Linked DNA regions of Homo sapiens: regions 2 and 3 are each linked to region 1. The links are contacts of gene promoters, found by promoter capture Hi-C in human tissues and cell types (Jung and others, 2019). All regions are on one chromosome and are shown on one strand. The core of a region is centred on a gene start or on the middle of the fragment in contact, and the rest is flanking DNA. Distances in the headings are between cores, read along the strand shown. Region 1 holds the start of NEUROD2 (neuronal differentiation 2). Region 2 overlaps LOC105371767 (a long non-coding RNA gene). Region 3 overlaps RAPGEFL1 (Rap guanine nucleotide exchange factor like 1).

The links. The method cuts DNA at HindIII sites, captures the fragments that hold promoters and counts their contacts. A contact is called where the count stands out against the background at its distance.
Region 2: a fragment that was not itself captured here is called in contact with the fragment with the promoter of NEUROD2 in region 1 in 2 of the 25 tissues and cell types used here (dorsolateral prefrontal cortex and spleen).
Region 3: a fragment that was not itself captured here is called in contact with the fragment with the promoter of NEUROD2 in region 1 in 1 of the 25 tissues and cell types used here (lymphoblastoid cells).

What each region holds. Positions count from the first base shown.
Region 1 is chr17:39,605,558-39,610,664 of GRCh38, forward strand. NEUROD2 (neuronal differentiation 2) reads right to left here and starts at 2,363. Exons shown (of 2, transcript NM_006160.4): 1 at 2,171-2,363; 2 at 1-1,047. The coding sequence starts at 1,042. The HindIII fragment of the contact is 16,482 bases long and covers 1-5,107 here.
Region 2 is chr17:39,019,917-39,025,023 of GRCh38, forward strand. The region is part of intron 1 of LOC105371767 (a long non-coding RNA gene); the gene reads right to left. Among named protein-coding and RNA genes, the nearest start is that of LINC02079, 4.6 kb to the right of the region's middle. The HindIII fragment of the contact is 5,779 bases long and covers 8-5,107 here.
Region 3 is chr17:40,185,041-40,190,147 of GRCh38, forward strand. RAPGEFL1 (Rap guanine nucleotide exchange factor like 1) reads left to right here. Exons shown (of 15, transcript NM_016339.6): 5 at 3,826-3,938; 6 at 4,168-4,335. Among named protein-coding and RNA genes, the nearest start is that of MIR6867, 6.0 kb to the right of the region's middle. The HindIII fragment of the contact is 6,392 bases long and covers 1-5,107 here.

The sequences.
Region 1 (5,107 bases), core at 1,113-3,612:
CCGACGAGCCGAAGACTAGCCCGTGGCCCGTGGGCCGCGAACCGGGCAGCGCCGAGTAGTGCATAGAGTAGTGGTAGCTTTTCTCGTGGTCGGGCGAGGAGTCCTGCTTGAGTGAGAAGTTGCCATTGAGACAGAGCGGGGGGCTGAGCGGGCCCTCGTACTCGGAGCTGTTGTAGTCCGGGCTCGCGCCGCCACCGCCTGCCGCCGCATACAGCGTCTCGTAGGCGGCGCAGTAGCCGTGGGTCCGCAGGGCGTGCGCCGCGCCGCCGCCCAGGCCGCCGGCCGCCTGGCACTGTGCGCCCGCCAGGCGCGAGCACGGGTACGGGTAGGGGTGCATGGCGAACGGGCCGCCCGAGCCGTGGAAGCGGCCGGCACCGTCGGCGCCTTGCTCCGTGAGGAAGTTGCGAGAGTTGAGCTGCAGACAGCCGGCCACCAGATTGGTGGTGGGCTGCGACAGACCCTTGCACAGAGTCTGCACGTAGGACACTAGGTCTGGCCGCTTGCCGGAGCGCAGGATCTCCGAGAGCGCCCAGATATAGTTCTTGGCTAGGCGCAGCGTCTCGATCTTGGACAGCTTCTGCGTCTTGGAGTAGCAGGGCACCACCTTGCGCAGGTTGTCCAGGGCTGCGTTCAGGTCGTGCATGCGGTTGCGCTCCCGCGCGTTCGCCTTCTGCCGCCGAAGCTTGGAGCGCTCCAAGCGCGCCTTGGTCATCTTGCGCTTCTTGGGCCCGCGCTTCTTGGGCCGCTCGCCCTCCGCCTCGTCCAGTCCTTCTTCCTCCTCCTCTTCCTCCTCCTCCTCTCCCCCCAGCTCGCCTTCCTCCTTGACCTCGGCCAACGTGGCCTCCGTCCCCTCTTCTCCACGGAGAGGGACTGGCTTGGCCGCCCGGGCTGGCCCCGGAGCCCCTGGCCCGGGCGCAGGCGGTGGCGGTGGCGGCGCGTCGCCCTTGTCGCTCCTCGGCTCGTCGTCTTCGCCGTCGCCCCAGCTGGCGAACTTGGGCACGTCCGAGAGAAGGCCGGGCTCGCTGAACAGGCGGGTCAGCATGGTGCCTGAGGGCGCCCCGCGGGCGGGAAGGGGAGACAGACAGCACAAAGTGAGGGGCGCGCTGGGGTACCGACGCCCCCCCACAACCCTCCTCCACCCCCGAGTCTCGTGCGGGCTCCTGCCTAGGCTACCCTGGATGCCCACCTCCGCCGCCTGCCCCGCCCAGAGCCGGCCCAGCCCTACCCGGCTGCCGGCCTGGGATCTCGGCCCAGGCCCTCTCCCCGGCGCTGGGCCCCGGCTCCGCCCCTCGCTTGAATGGGGGGCTGCTCCCCGCGCCTGCTTCTTCTCAGGGTCAGGGCAGGGACCGGGTGGGGGTTTTAGGGACCAGATATCTTTGCCAGGGGAGGCGGCGCGCTCGCCCTGAAAGCCCGTTCTCTCCTGGCGGTGGAGAGAGGCTGGTCGGCCGCCGGTGGGGACAGCTGCCCCGCTCCGCGCTCTCGCGGCCCGGGCCCCCCGGCCCAGCTCCCTCACCCCTCCCGTGGCTCTCACCCCCACGCTCCCTAATCCAATTTGCAACTTGGCTGCGCGCCGCCCCTTGCTCGGCCCCCACCCCCGCACCCCCAATTCCAGAGGCGGGAGGATCGTCTCCTCTAGCCGATGCGTCCCCAGCTCCCGGAGCCGGCTCTGGGCGGCGAGGACTGAAGCAGCGGGGCGTGGGGAGGAGACTGAGAGAAGCGAGCCCAGTCCGTCCCCTCTGCGGTCAGGGACCCCCTTCCCCCTTCAAGCTGACTCCCTCCCACAAGGCTCTTCAGATCTCGTTGTATTTTGGGATTGATGGGGGAAAAATCCAAATTTGTTTGTTTGCTTCCCTTTTTTCGGTGGTGGGGAAAGGTGGCAGGCTTTTTGGGACAACCATGGAGGGGTCCTCCGTCTCGGCCTCTTCGCATATCCCCCTCCGTGATCCTGCCTTCCCCCCCCACCGAGCCCATCGCAGGCAGAGACACCTCCTCTGCAGCCCCCTGGGCTGCAGCCCCTAAGGGAGAGAGAACCTGGGGCCCCTCCGATGCCCACCCAATGAGGGGGGCATCATCCCAGGAAGGAGGTATTTGAGGACCCTCCTGTCGGCCGAAGCTGCCGCCCCTCCTCCCAACCGGCGGGTCAGATCTCGCTCCCTTTCGGACAACTTACCTCGGAGAGGAGTCAAGGGGAGAGGGGAGGGGAGGGGGGGAGGGGGCAAGAGAGAGAGGGGGGAGAAGAGGGATCTTCTCGCTTATTTCATTGTTCCCCCATCTTCAGGGAGCGGGGGCAGCGGCTCCTCAAGGCGGCGGGCGCCGGCGTCTTCAGAGCGCCATGCGAACCGCGGAGCGAGTGTGGCATCTCTACCAGGCGGGGTACCAGCCTCTATGCCAGGCCATATGGGCTTGGCACGTCACGGGCAGCAGCTATCACATGAGAGACGGTGATTGGCATGCGTCTGCACTGGGGGAGAGCCGGCTCCCCCGGGACCCGCCGCCATCTGTCACTCTCTACTCCAAAAAAAAAAAAAAAAATTAAATAAATAAAGGAAATAAATAAATATTTCTGCCGCCCTCCCCTCCCCGCCCAACGCAGGGAAAGCAGGGATTGAGAGGAAGGTGGGAGGAGTTGCCCCCTGTATATAGAGACCCCCTCACGGGAACAATGGGGTGGCAAGGCTGGACACTGGGGGCTCGTGGTGGCCAATTCTATGCTCCCTCAGGGTCCCGCTCTGTCCATTTCCTCCCCTGCAGGCCCCCAAGGTGGGTCAGGGACCAGACCCCGGGTTGGGGAGAAAGGACCTCTGTGCTTGCCCCCACTCCCCAGGAGGGTCCCCTTGGCCACAAAGGGACAGCTGAGACCCCCTCCCAGGATGGCTGTAAGGGGCGTCCCTGGCCCGAGCCCCATAGGTAGATGTTGGCACCATGCCATCCCTCATCCCTGTCTGCCCCTCCCCCACCCACCCTCACGCACACACAACATATGTGGCTAAACGAAATTCAAACCAAGGGAAAGACAGAGAAAGGGAAAGATGTGCCTGGATGTCTGTGCCTCTGCATGGGCGTGTGTGTGTCTGTGGGGACATGTGTGTATCTGTGGAGTCAGCCGATGGGAGATCTTTCCTTGGTTGTTGGGGGCGTATCCATGTTAGGGTGGAGTGGGGAGGGGCCGCGAGATGAGCCTGTGCACCACCCATCTGGGGGTGGAGGGGAGGGTCTAAGTCTGGATTCCTAACCTAGAAACCTCTCACTCTCCTCCTCCCACTGCCAGACAGGTGACCAGTCCACCAGCGGCTTTCTCTCCTGGTCTTCAGACTTGGTTATTTGAGGGAGGAGGAGCAGGCAGTGCTGAGAACTGCCTAAGTTCCTGGATGAGACTCAAGCATTCTCCTCCCCTTCTGAAAAATCTGAAAATACTGAAGCCAACCCCAGTAATCCCAAGAGTGGCCAAGGGGAGGTAGGTCAGACAGCTGTCTTGATAAGGGAGGTAGGAAGTTGCTGTTTTATCTTGTGGCTCACCTTTCAACACTCTCATTGGGCCAGACACAGATACAAATGGCACAGGTTGAAGAGGTGGCTTTGGACACACACACACACACTCATGCACACACACATACACACACACACGGATGCATACACATGCACACATATACCTGTTCCTCACCCTGTGGTGTAGAAAAATAGATAACATACCCCTACTCAGATAGACACATGTATGTGAGCAGGTAATCACAGCCTGGTGTAGACAGACCCTTGCCCACACCCCATTTGGAGCATTTGTATGTTTTAGACCCACATTTCTGCCCCTCCAGACACTCTAGCTGACATATATACACAACTTCAATTATACTTTCAGCACACACATTTTGATGTCTACCATGTGCCAAGCACTGTGGTGGTACAAAAATGAGCACGGGGAGGCCTTTACCCTCAATCTGGGTGGGCAGGGCTCTCTCCCTCTAGGAGGCTCCCCAGGGACCTTGGGCTGGTAAGACACTGATCTGATGTTGGGTAGGTTGGATTAAGTTCTAAATAGAGACACACATCAGGAGGCCTTGGAGATAGGGGTGCTGGTGCTGCCTGGGACTCTTGAGTCACTTGGCTGGGAGTTGAAAGTAGCCTGAGAATGTACCTCTCCAACTCCTCATCTTACAGAGGCCCATGGAGGGAAACTGACCTGCCTAGGAACACACAGGGGAAACACAGAACTGGGCCTAGAATTCAGGCACTTGACCCACAGACCAGTACTCCACTTATAAGCCCACAATCTGCCTCAGTGGTCTCTAAAAATAAGCCTACCATGCTTCCCTTCATTCACGAATCCTGGGTCTGCAAGGCGAATCCCATCTCTGGCAGATAGTCGTGGTGGGGAGATTCTGGGCATGGCAGAGAAAGAGGCCAAAGGATGGGCTTCAGGTAGGGCAGAGACTCAGGAGTGCTGGCCAGCCTCCACCAAGTTTGGGCACAGCCTCCAAGGCTTTGCAATCCTTTTACTGAAGCAGGGTCCTCAATCCTGACTAGTAGCCTTTTTCCTGGAGTCTCCTGGCTCTGTGATATTTCAATTACATGCCCATGCTCTGGGCTTCTGATTCCTGGCCAACCCCATTACCAACTTAAAAAAATGTTGGTCCCAGCCAGGCATGGTGGCTCACGCCTGTAATCCCAGCACTTTGGGAGGCCGAGGCGGGTGGATCACGAGGTCAGGAGATTGAGATCATCTTGGCTAACACGGTGAAAACCCATCTCTACTAAAAATACAAAAAATTAGCAGGGCATGGTGGCGGGCGCCTGTAGTCCCAGCTACTCGGGAGGCTGAGGCAGGAGAATGGCGTGAACACGGGAGGCGGAGCTTGCAGTGAGCCGAGATCGCACCACTGCACTCCAGCCTGGGCGACAGAGTGAGACTCCGTCTCAAAAAAAAAAAAAAATGAGAGGCCCAGCATGGTAGCTCACACCTGTAATACCAGCAGTTTGGGAGGCTGAGGCCAGCAGATCCCTTCAGCTCACAAGTTCGAGACCAGCCTGGGCAGCATTGTGAAACCCTGCCTCTGCCTAAAAAACAAAAATTAGCCAGGCATGGCGGCGCATGCCTGTAGTTCCAGCTACTCGG
Region 2 (5,107 bases), core at 1,647-4,146, 590 kb before region 1:
GGTGAAACCCCGTCTCTACTAAAAATACAAAAATTAGCTGGGCGTGGTGGTGAGTGCCTGTAATCCCAACTACTTGGGAGGCCGTGGCAGGAGAATTGCTTGAACCCAGGAGGCAGAGGTTGCAGTGAGCTGAGATCACGCCATTGCACTCCAGCCTCGGTGACAGAGCAAGACTCCATCTCAAAAACAACAACAACAATTTAGAAGAAGTTGATTCCAATGCTTATGGATGACTTTGAGGAGTTCAGACTTCAGTGGAGAGTAACTGCAGATGTTGTGGAAATAGCAAGATAACCAGAATTAGAAGTGGAGCCTGAAGATGAAACTGAATTGCTGCCATCTCATGATAACACTTGAATGGATGAGGAGTTGCTCCTTTTTTTTTTTTTTTTTTTTGAGATGAAGTCTGGCTCTTGTGCCCCAGGCTGGAGTGCAGTGGTGTGATCTCGGCTCACTGCAACTTCTGCCTCCCGGGTTCAAGCGGTTCTCCTGCCTCAGCCTCCCGATTAGCTGGGATTACAGGCACTTGCCACCATGCTCAGCTAATTTTTGTATTTTTAGTAGAGATGGGGTTTCACCATGTTGGCCAGGCTGGTCTCGAACTTCTGACCTCAGGTGATCTGCCTGCCTCAGCCTCCCAAAGTGTTGGGATTACAGGCGTGAGCCACCGCGTCAGGCCAGGAGTTGCTTCTTATGGATGAGCAAGGAAAGTGGTTTCTTGAGATGGAATCTACTCCTGGTGAAGATACTATGAACATTGTTGAAATGGCAACAAAGAATTTACAATATTCCATAAGCTTAGTTAATAAGCAGCAGCAGAGTTTGAGAGGATCAACTCCAATTTTGAAAGAAGTTTTACTGGGGGTAAAATGCTATCAAACAGCAGTGCATGGTACAGAGAAATCTTTTGTGAAAGGAAGAGTCAATCAATGTGACAAACATAACTGTTGTCTTATTGTAAGAAATTGTTATGACCACCCAACCCTTCAGCAACCACTACCCTAATCAGTCAGCAGGCATGACATTGAGGCAAGACCCTCCACCAGCAAAAAGATCATGACTTGCCAGAGGCTCAGATGATTGTCAGCATTTTTTAGGCAATATTTTAAAGTTAAGGTATTGATAGCGGCAGGAGGCAGACAGATCCTAGGCAGACAGGGGTGGGTCCCCAATGAAAGCTGACCTCCAAACCAGACAGTTTAAAGGCTGAAAGCCAAGCTACAAGTCTTGGATAAATCCGTGGACAGATTGAGAACCTCTCTTTCTGTTTGGCACGCTTTCCTCTGATCGATCCCTGCCTTTAACCTATTTTACATATGCCTACTCTTCCCTGTTTTTTTACGCTGTGCCCATCTTTAAGTGGTGCCTTTTTTTTTCAGCCTTTTTGGCATACTCACAAACCAGTCAGCACACACTCTCCCATTCTGAACCCATAAAAATCCTCTTCAGTCCTGGTTCCACTTCCTGTAACTGAAACAATTACCTGCGAGGTATTATTTAACTTTTGGACTATGATGTTTCTAACCTGTGACCATTTCACATAGCCATTCAAATATAAAGGTACGGTAAAGATTATGAAACGGGTTGGGTGCAGTGGCTCATGCCTGTATTCCCAGCACTTTGGGAGGCCGAGGTGGGTGGATCATGAGGTCAGGAGTTCGAGACCAGCCTGAGCAACATGGTGAAACCTCGTCTCTACTAAAAATACAAAAATTAGCCAGGCGTGGTGGTGCGTGCTGTAATCCCAGCTACTCAGGAGGCTAAGGCAGGAGAATTACTTGAACCTGGGAGGCAGAGGTTGCAGTGAGCTAAGATCGTGCCACTGTACTCCAGCCTGGGCAACAGAGCGAGATTCCATCTCAAAAAAAAAAAAATGAAACAGTTACTTGGTATCATTTTGTAAGTAATGAGTTTTTAGTGCTCTTTGGACATTGAGACCATTTCATAAGATTTAGGTTTTGAGAATTTCACAGCATAAAGCCCATCACTGATGCAGCAATGAAGGAAATGTTCTACAACTCAACAGACAGGTGAGAGGAGAAATGTAATTCATATTAGATTTATTTATTTACTGAACTTAGAGCCTGGGGTTACTACTCGACCCCCACTGTTATCTAGTTTAAGTGTTCTTTTCTACTTTAGCACATACACCTAGTTTCTGTGTTTTTTGCCTTTTATAAATACAGAAAAGAGAATAATGTTTTAAAATAAAATCAAGGAAAGGCCTAAGGCACCTGAGAGGGTTTTGTTTTTGTTTTTGTTTTTTTTTTTTTCAGTGAAATGAAGGGAAATTGTTGCCAGCAAGAACTGTGGCAAGGTTATCCAAGGTGACAAATGTCTGTACCACCCAGCAGCTCCGAGTCCTTCTGAAGCATCCTGGTTGTCCAGAAAGACTCCACCGTGACTCATGATACCGGCCAGTCTTCCCGGTAGCACTCAACATTCGAAAATTAGTCTTCATTTCTCCTTCCCAACATGCATTTCTCCTTCTCTTCAGTTGGAGAAAGTAATTTAATTTTTTTTTTTATAGAGTCTCGCTCTGTTGCCCAGGCTGGAGTGCAGTGGCGCAATCTTGGCTCACTGCAAGCTTCGCCTTCTGGGTTCACGCCATTCTCCCGCCTCAGCCTCCTGAGTAGCTGGGACTACAGGTGCCCGCCACCACACCCGGCTAATTTTTTTTTTTTTGTATTTTTAGTAGAGACGGGGTTTCACCGTGTTAGCCAGGATAGTCTCGATCTCTTGACCTCGTGATCCGCCCGCCTCGGCCTCCCAAAGTGCTGGGATTACAGGTGTGAGCCACCGTGCCCAGCCTTACATCACCAATTCTTTCTTATATGTCTATTTTTTAAGTGTAGTATATGATTATATTCATGAAATTCAAATGATACAAATGAAGTCAAATCTATTTGTATTAGAAATTAATAAGAATTAACAGTAAAGTTAATTCTTTATTGATTTGCACACCTATAGTTGCAGCTACTTGGGAGGCTGAGGCAGGAGAATCGCTTGATCCCGGGACGTGGAGGTTGCAGTGAGCCAGGATGGCGCCACTGCACTCCAGCCTGGTGACAGAGCGAGACTCTGTCTCAAAAAACAAAACAAAACAAAAAGAATTGATGATGTAAGAAATCCACAGGAATGTGTAAATTATTTCAAGAATTAACACTCAGTAGATACTTGCATTCCCAAATAAGCTTATAAATGCAGATGAACCTCTAGTTGTTTTAGTTGCTTGTAAAATTCATAGAGGTACGTGTATTTCTTCATTTAACACGGGTTAGTCACTTGGGGAGGGGGATGGGTGTTGGGTTCTTTTTACCTGTTCTTCAGGTCACATACTCAAGCAGGAGCTACTGAATGGGAAGACTGAAACAATTTCTTTTCTTTGCACACTTGGTATTGATAAATGTCAGGTGTATGCAAAATAAAATCTCTGGCAGGTTGTGATATTTATGGGTCTATCTCTTGTGACTGTAGTTTCGTCTCGGCACCAGACATAAGGCAGTTCAATGTCAGGCCATTGCCCTAAACAGTTCCCGATGCCAAGAACTGACAAATTGCTACTTTGGTTTCAATGGATGGTCAAAAGGGATCATCAGGGCAAACCTTGTAGATTTTCTTTCACCAACCCTATTCTCCTTTCAACATTGAAATCCTAGACTTTAGACAGAAATATTGAACTGGGTTGTAGTGAGGAGATATGAGAGGCCTCCTGCCATTGAGGATAAGTGGATATGTCTGAATTGGCCTGCTACCTAGAATTAATAATCTCAATCACTTGGAGGGTGGTATCCATAATTTTCTCCACTATTTGTGCCACCACACCCGGCTATTTTTAGTAGAGATGGGGTTTCACCATGTTGGCCAGGCTGTTCTTGAACTCCTGGCCTCCACCTGCCTCAGCCTCCCAAAGTGCTGGGATTACAGGCATGGGCCACCATGTCCAGCCAACCAAACCTTTTTCTCTTTTTCTTTCCTTTTCTTTCTTTTCTTTTCTTTTTTTTTTTTTTTGAGATGGAGTTTCACTCTTCTTGCTCAGGCGGGAGTGCAGTGGTGTGATCTTGGCTCACTGCAACCTTTGCCTCCCGGGTTACAGCGATTCTCCTGTCTCAGCCTCCTGAGCATCTGGGATTACAGGCATGCACCACCACACCTGGCTAATTTTTGGTATTTTTAGTAGAGACGGGGTTTCACCATGTTGGTCAGGCTGGTCTCGAACTCCTGACCTCAGGTGATCCTGCCGCCTCAGCCTCCCAAAGTGCTGGTATTACAGGCGTGAGCTGCCGCGCAGGCCGTAAGTATGATTCTTATACAATAATCAGCGGCTTTGCTGTGAACCTTGGAAGTGGTCATGCTATTGAATGGCATTGTTTGTATTCCCCATTCACTTCTACAGTGGCACAAATGTTATAGGCTGTGCCTAAAGGAAACCTGATGATTAACAAAGAGTCCCTGAACAGAGTTGCTCCTGCTTCACAGTGCTGAAGGCTTAGAGACTGAGAGATCCTAATTAAGTTACCACAGACCTTTATTTGCTTGTAAGAGACGGCCCTGATTGCTCTCAGCTTTCCAACCTGGGCAGCCCTGCTAGTGAAAGTATTACTTCCTTGGTCATCAACTGTCAAGTCTGAGTAACAACCTTTAAGAACCAAACTGAATGTGTGGGTTGTTTACCTCTCCCTCATACTCGAAGGTATCCCTTGCACACCTTCAAAACCTCTTAGACCAAAAGCCTTATGGCTCTAGTTTGCCTGGAAGGAAGTTGTATTGTCTATAGAGTATGTGTGCCAGTTTCTGCAATAAAATGTTCAAATGTTCTCTCTCTCTGAAACTTTGTTCATTGTATCTGGTGGAATTTTGGTTCTCAGGGAGTAGACACCTGGCCCTTGCTTCTAATGTGAAGTGTCTACCAGCCCAGTGGTCTCTATTCCAGATTTGAACTTACTTTGACCCCCGCCTTATTATGTCTTAGAATTTAATCATATCATTATTATTATTTTTGAGATACAGTTTCACTCTGTCACTCGGGCTGGAGTGCAGTGGCGCGATCTTGACTCACTGAGACCTCCGCCTCCCGGGTTCAAGCAATTCTCATGCTTCAGCCTCC
Region 3 (5,107 bases), core at 1,756-4,255, 580 kb after region 1:
GCTGGGATTACAGGTGTGAGCCACTGTGTCTGGCTTCCAATATGGTTTTATTTCAGCTCCTTTCTCTCACTGAAGGGTGGCACAAAGCACTGTCTCCAGTCACTTTTTTGTCCATTCTCCCATTCATTTGTCTGATAATCCAGTGGTGTACTGGTAAATATTTAACAACCAGTGCTGCAGGAGAAAGAGCCCTGATTTGTAGCTTTTGCTGATTCCTACAGTGTAAACTCTGTCACCATGGCTGATTTCAAGCTACCAATGTGACAACACTGAAAGAGGAGTTGGGAAGAGACATGCAGCACAGGCTGTTATGTAGTATCTCCACCATACAGTAGATGTAGTAAAAGGTAGTAAAATGGCTGGGCAAGGTGGCTTATGCCTGTAATCCCAGCACTTTGGGAGGTCAAGATGGGTGGAGCACTTAAGGTCAGGAGTTCAAGACCAGCCTGGCTAACATTGTGAAACCCTGTCTCCACTACAAAAAAAAAAAAAAAAAAAAAGGCTGTGTGCCAAGGCAGGCAGATCATGAGGTCAGGAGTTTGAGAGCAGCCCGGCCAATATGGTGAAACCCTGTCTCTACTAAAAATACAAAAATTAGCTGGGCGTGGTAGGGCGCTCCTGTAGTCCCAGCTACTTGGGAGGGTGAGGCAGAAGAATTGCTTGAATCCAGGAGGTGGAGGTTGCAGTGAGCTGAGATCATGCCACTGCACTCCAGCCTGGGCGACAGAGTGAGATTCTGTCTCAAAAAAAAAAAAAAAAAAAAGAAAAGAAAAATTAGCTGGGGGTGGTGGTACGTGCCTGTAGTCCCAGCTACTCAGGAGGCTGAGGCAGGAGAATTGCTTGAACCCAGGAGATGGAGGTTGCAGTGAGCTGAAATCACCTTACTGCACTACAGCCTGGGTGACAGAGCGAGACTCCGTCTCTAAAGAAAAAAAAAAAGGCCGGGTGCGGTGGCTCACGCCTGTAATCCCAGCACTTTGGGAGGCTGAGGCAGGCAGATCATGAGAGGCAGATCATGAGATCAGGAGTTCGAGACCAGCCTGACCAACATGGTGAAACCCCATCTCTACTAAAAATACAAAAATTAGCCAGGCATGGTGGCACATGCCTGTAATCCCAGCTACTCAAGAGGCTGAGGCAGGAGAATGTCTTGAATCCAGGAGGCAGAGGTTGTAGTGAGCCAAGATTGCATCACTGCATTCCAGCCTGGGTGACAGAGTGGACTCCGTCTCAAAAAAAAAAAAAAGGCCGGGCGCGGTGGCTCACGCCTGTAATCCCAGCACTTTGGGAGGCCGAGGCGGGTGGATCATGAGGTCAGGAGATCGAGACCATCCTGGCTAACAAGGTGAAACCCCGTCTCTACTAAAAATACAAAAAATTAGCCGGGCGCGGTGGCGGGCGCCTGCAGTCCCAGCTACTCGGGAGGCTGAGGCAGGAGAATGGCGTGAACCCGGGAAGCGGAGTTTGCAGTGAGCCGAGATTGCGCCACTGCAGTCCGCAGTCCGGCCTGGGCGACAGAGCGAGACTCCGTCTCAAAAAAAAAAAAAAAAAAAAAAAAAAAAAAAAAAAGAGGTGGGCTGGGTGTGGTGGCTCATGCCTGTAATCCCAGCACTTTGGGAGGCCGAGGCAGGCAGAATGAGGTCAAGAGATCGAGACCATCCTGGCCAACACGGTGAAACCCTGTCTGTACTAAAAATACAAAAATTAGCCGGGCGTGGTGGTACACACCTGTAATCCCAGCTACACGGGAGGCTGAGGCAGGAGAATTGCTTGAATCCAGGAGGTGGAGGTTACAGTGAGCCGAGATTGCAGCACTGCACGCCAGCCTGACAACAGAGCAAGACTCTGTCTCAAAAAAAAAAAAAAAAAAGTAGTGAAAACAGGAAGGAAACTGTTTTTTTGGTAACAACTTATTTGATTATAAATTTTATGTATTATTTATTAATTTGTATTATTATTTTTTAATAGAGACGGTTTCATTATGTTGTCCAGGCTGGGCTCCAGCAATCCTCCCACCTTGGCCTCCCAGAGTGTTGGGATTCTAGGTGTAAGCCACCACACCTGGCCTGACTATAAGTTTATAAAACATATATATTTATATATGGAGATATATTTGTTTATTTATATTTTAATGGCTCTTTAAAAAACAGTTGGTAAAATTCCCCAGAACTTAACAGTATGCTCTTGTGAGCCAGTGTGAACCAGCTTCAGGACACCACTGTATCCATCCATCCATGAATCCATTCTGCCCTTTTAGTTTCTCTCTTCTCTTGTCCCCACCACCACAACCCTTAGGGAGGCCTCAGCTTGTGGTCTAGCATCCTTCTCTGCCTTCTCTGTGCTGACACTAGAGAGATCTTTCATGCTCCTGTTCCAAAGGCATCCCTGCTCCCCATGCTTCCAAGAGAAAGTGAAACATCCCAGCATTCAATACCCTTCCCTTTCTGCCTTCTGCTGATCCTTCCCATCTCATCTCCTACATCCCCTCCATCCATGACACCTCAACTCCTGCGCTCTCGAACTTCCCATGGTCGGTTATATTGTCCACCCCAGAATGCCCTCCTCCCACCATGTTTTCTTTTTTTTTTGAGACAGAGCCTGGCTCTGTCGCCCAGGCTGGAGTGCAGTGGTGTGATCTCGGCTCACTGCAAGCTCTACCTCCCAGGTTCACACCATTCTCCTGCCTCAGCCTTCTGAGTAGCTGGGACTACAGGCGCCTGCCACCACGCCCGGCTAATTTTTTATATTTTTTTTAGTAGAGACGGGGTTTCATCGTGTTAGCCAGGATGGTCTAGATCTCCTGACCTCGTGATCCGCCCGCCTTGGCCTCCCAAAGTGCTGAGATTACAGGCGTGAGCCACCGCGCCTGGCCTTTTTTTTTTTTTTTTTTTTTTGAGATGGAGTCTTGCTCTGTTGCCAGGCTGGAGTGCATGGCGTGATCTCAACTCACTGCAACCTCCCCCTCCCGGGTTCAAGCGATTCTCCTGCCTCAGCCTCCCAAGTAGCTGGGATTACAGGTGCACGCCACTACGCCTGGCTAATTTTTGTGTTTTTAGTAGAGACGGGGTTTCACCATGTTGGCCAGGCTGGTCTTGAACTCCTGGCCTCAAGTGATCTGCCCACCTCAGCTTCCCAAAGTGCTGGGATTACAGGTGTGAGCCACTGCACCTGGCCTCCACCTCCTTCTCTTCCTGCTTTCCTCCAAGGCCCAGGTCAAATGCCATCTTCTCAATGAAAACTTCCCAGATCTTCCTTTTAGGAATAGCTTTCTTCTTCCCCCACACCAGCATAACTCTCCTGGTACCTTTGTTATATTATCAACACCTCCTGCCTGGTATTAGAAGTAGCTGTATGCCTGTCTATCTCCTTCCTAGACTGTGAAGTTCTTTTCAGCAAAATTCAGCAAACAGCTGCTGACCTACTACCTACCATGTGTCAAGCAGTGTGTTAGGCCCTGGTGGATGAAAAGATACTCAGTAAGAACCAAATCCCAGTCCTCAAGAGCTCTCAATCTCATAGAAGAGATAAGAGGTGAACATAAACATTATCCCAATGTTCTATAGTAGTTGAGAGAAGAAAGTGACCTTCCTGGTGGGTGGGGTGGATCAGAGAAGAATTCATGGAAGAGGTGGCATTTGATTAGGGTTACTTGGATAATTATCCCATACTGCTCATTGTCCTCTCTTCTGACCCCCTTAACCACCTGAAATTGCTGCTGGTGCATCCTTGACCCAATTCTGATATTCTTGCTTGATGTTGCCTGCTTGGTGTTGGTTGTCCATATGCCTGGCAGGGCGTGCTGATGCCCAGCTGTGTCCATGCCAGGATTCCAGAGGAGAACCAGCCACCCAGCAAGCAGGTGAAGCCACTCTTCCGCCACTTCCGCCGGATAGACTCCTGTCTGCAGACCCGGGTGGCCTTCCGGGGCTCTGATGAGAGTGAGTGTGGGCATTAGGAGGGGCAGGGTGTCCTGAGTGGCTCAGGGGGACATATCTCTGGGTCTTGAGCACCCTCAGTGGCATCTCCCTGGGTGGTAGAACCAGCCCCTTTCACAGGACCTTCTTCAGAGGCCAGCCTCTGGTGGGGAATAGAGGCACCCTGGAGGAGACTGTGCCAGCTGCTGCCACTCTGCCCTCTGTTGAAAGCCATTTTCCTGTTTCCGTCCAGTCTTCTGCCGTGTATACATGCCTGACCACTCTTATGTGACCATACGCAGCCGCCTTTCAGCATCTGTGCAGGACATTCTGGGCTCTGTGACGGAGAAACTTCAATATTCAGAGGAGCCCGCGGGGCGTGAGGATTCCCTCATCCTGGTAGCTGTGTCCTCCTCTGGAGGTGAGGGTCAGGAAGAACTGGGCTGATGCTCCGAGAGGAGAAACTCACAAGCTCAGGGCTCTGGGGGAGGGGTAGAGACTGAATTCTAGGCCCTTGCTACTCAAAGTATGGTCCCGGGACAAGCCTCATGTGCATCGCCTGGGAACTTGTTAGGATGCAGCATCTTGCTGGGTGCAGTGGTGCAAACCTGCAGTCCCAGCTACTCAGGAGGCTGAGGCAGGAGGATTGCTTGAGCCCAGGAATCCAAGGTAGTACATTATGATTGCACCTGTGAATAGGCACTGCGCCCTATCCTGGGCAACATAACAAGACTCTGTCTCTAAAAGAGATGCAGCATCTGCGACCCCACCCCGACCTGCTGGTCTTGTTCAAATCAGCATTTGGACAGGACCCCCCAGGGGACTCCTATGCCTACTAAAGTTTGGGAGGCACTAGCTGGGCATGGTGGTGTGCACCTGTAATCCCAGCTACTTGGGAGGCTGAGGCAGGAGAATCACTTGAACCGCGGAGGCGGAGGTTGCAGTGCCGAGATCAAGACACTGTGCTCCAGTCTGGGCAACAAGAGCGAAACTCCGTCTCAAAAAAAAAAAAAAAGTTTGGGAGGCACTGGTCTAGGACTCAGGTTCTGATCTGAGTGCTGCCCCTCACTCACCTATGGATTGTATTCTGATCCTTTAACCTCCCTGTGTATGTAAGGATGCCACATTTCACAGGCTAAAGACACAGGATGAGTGGGAAGGCAGAAAGCCAGCAATGTCACTGAAGCTTTGTT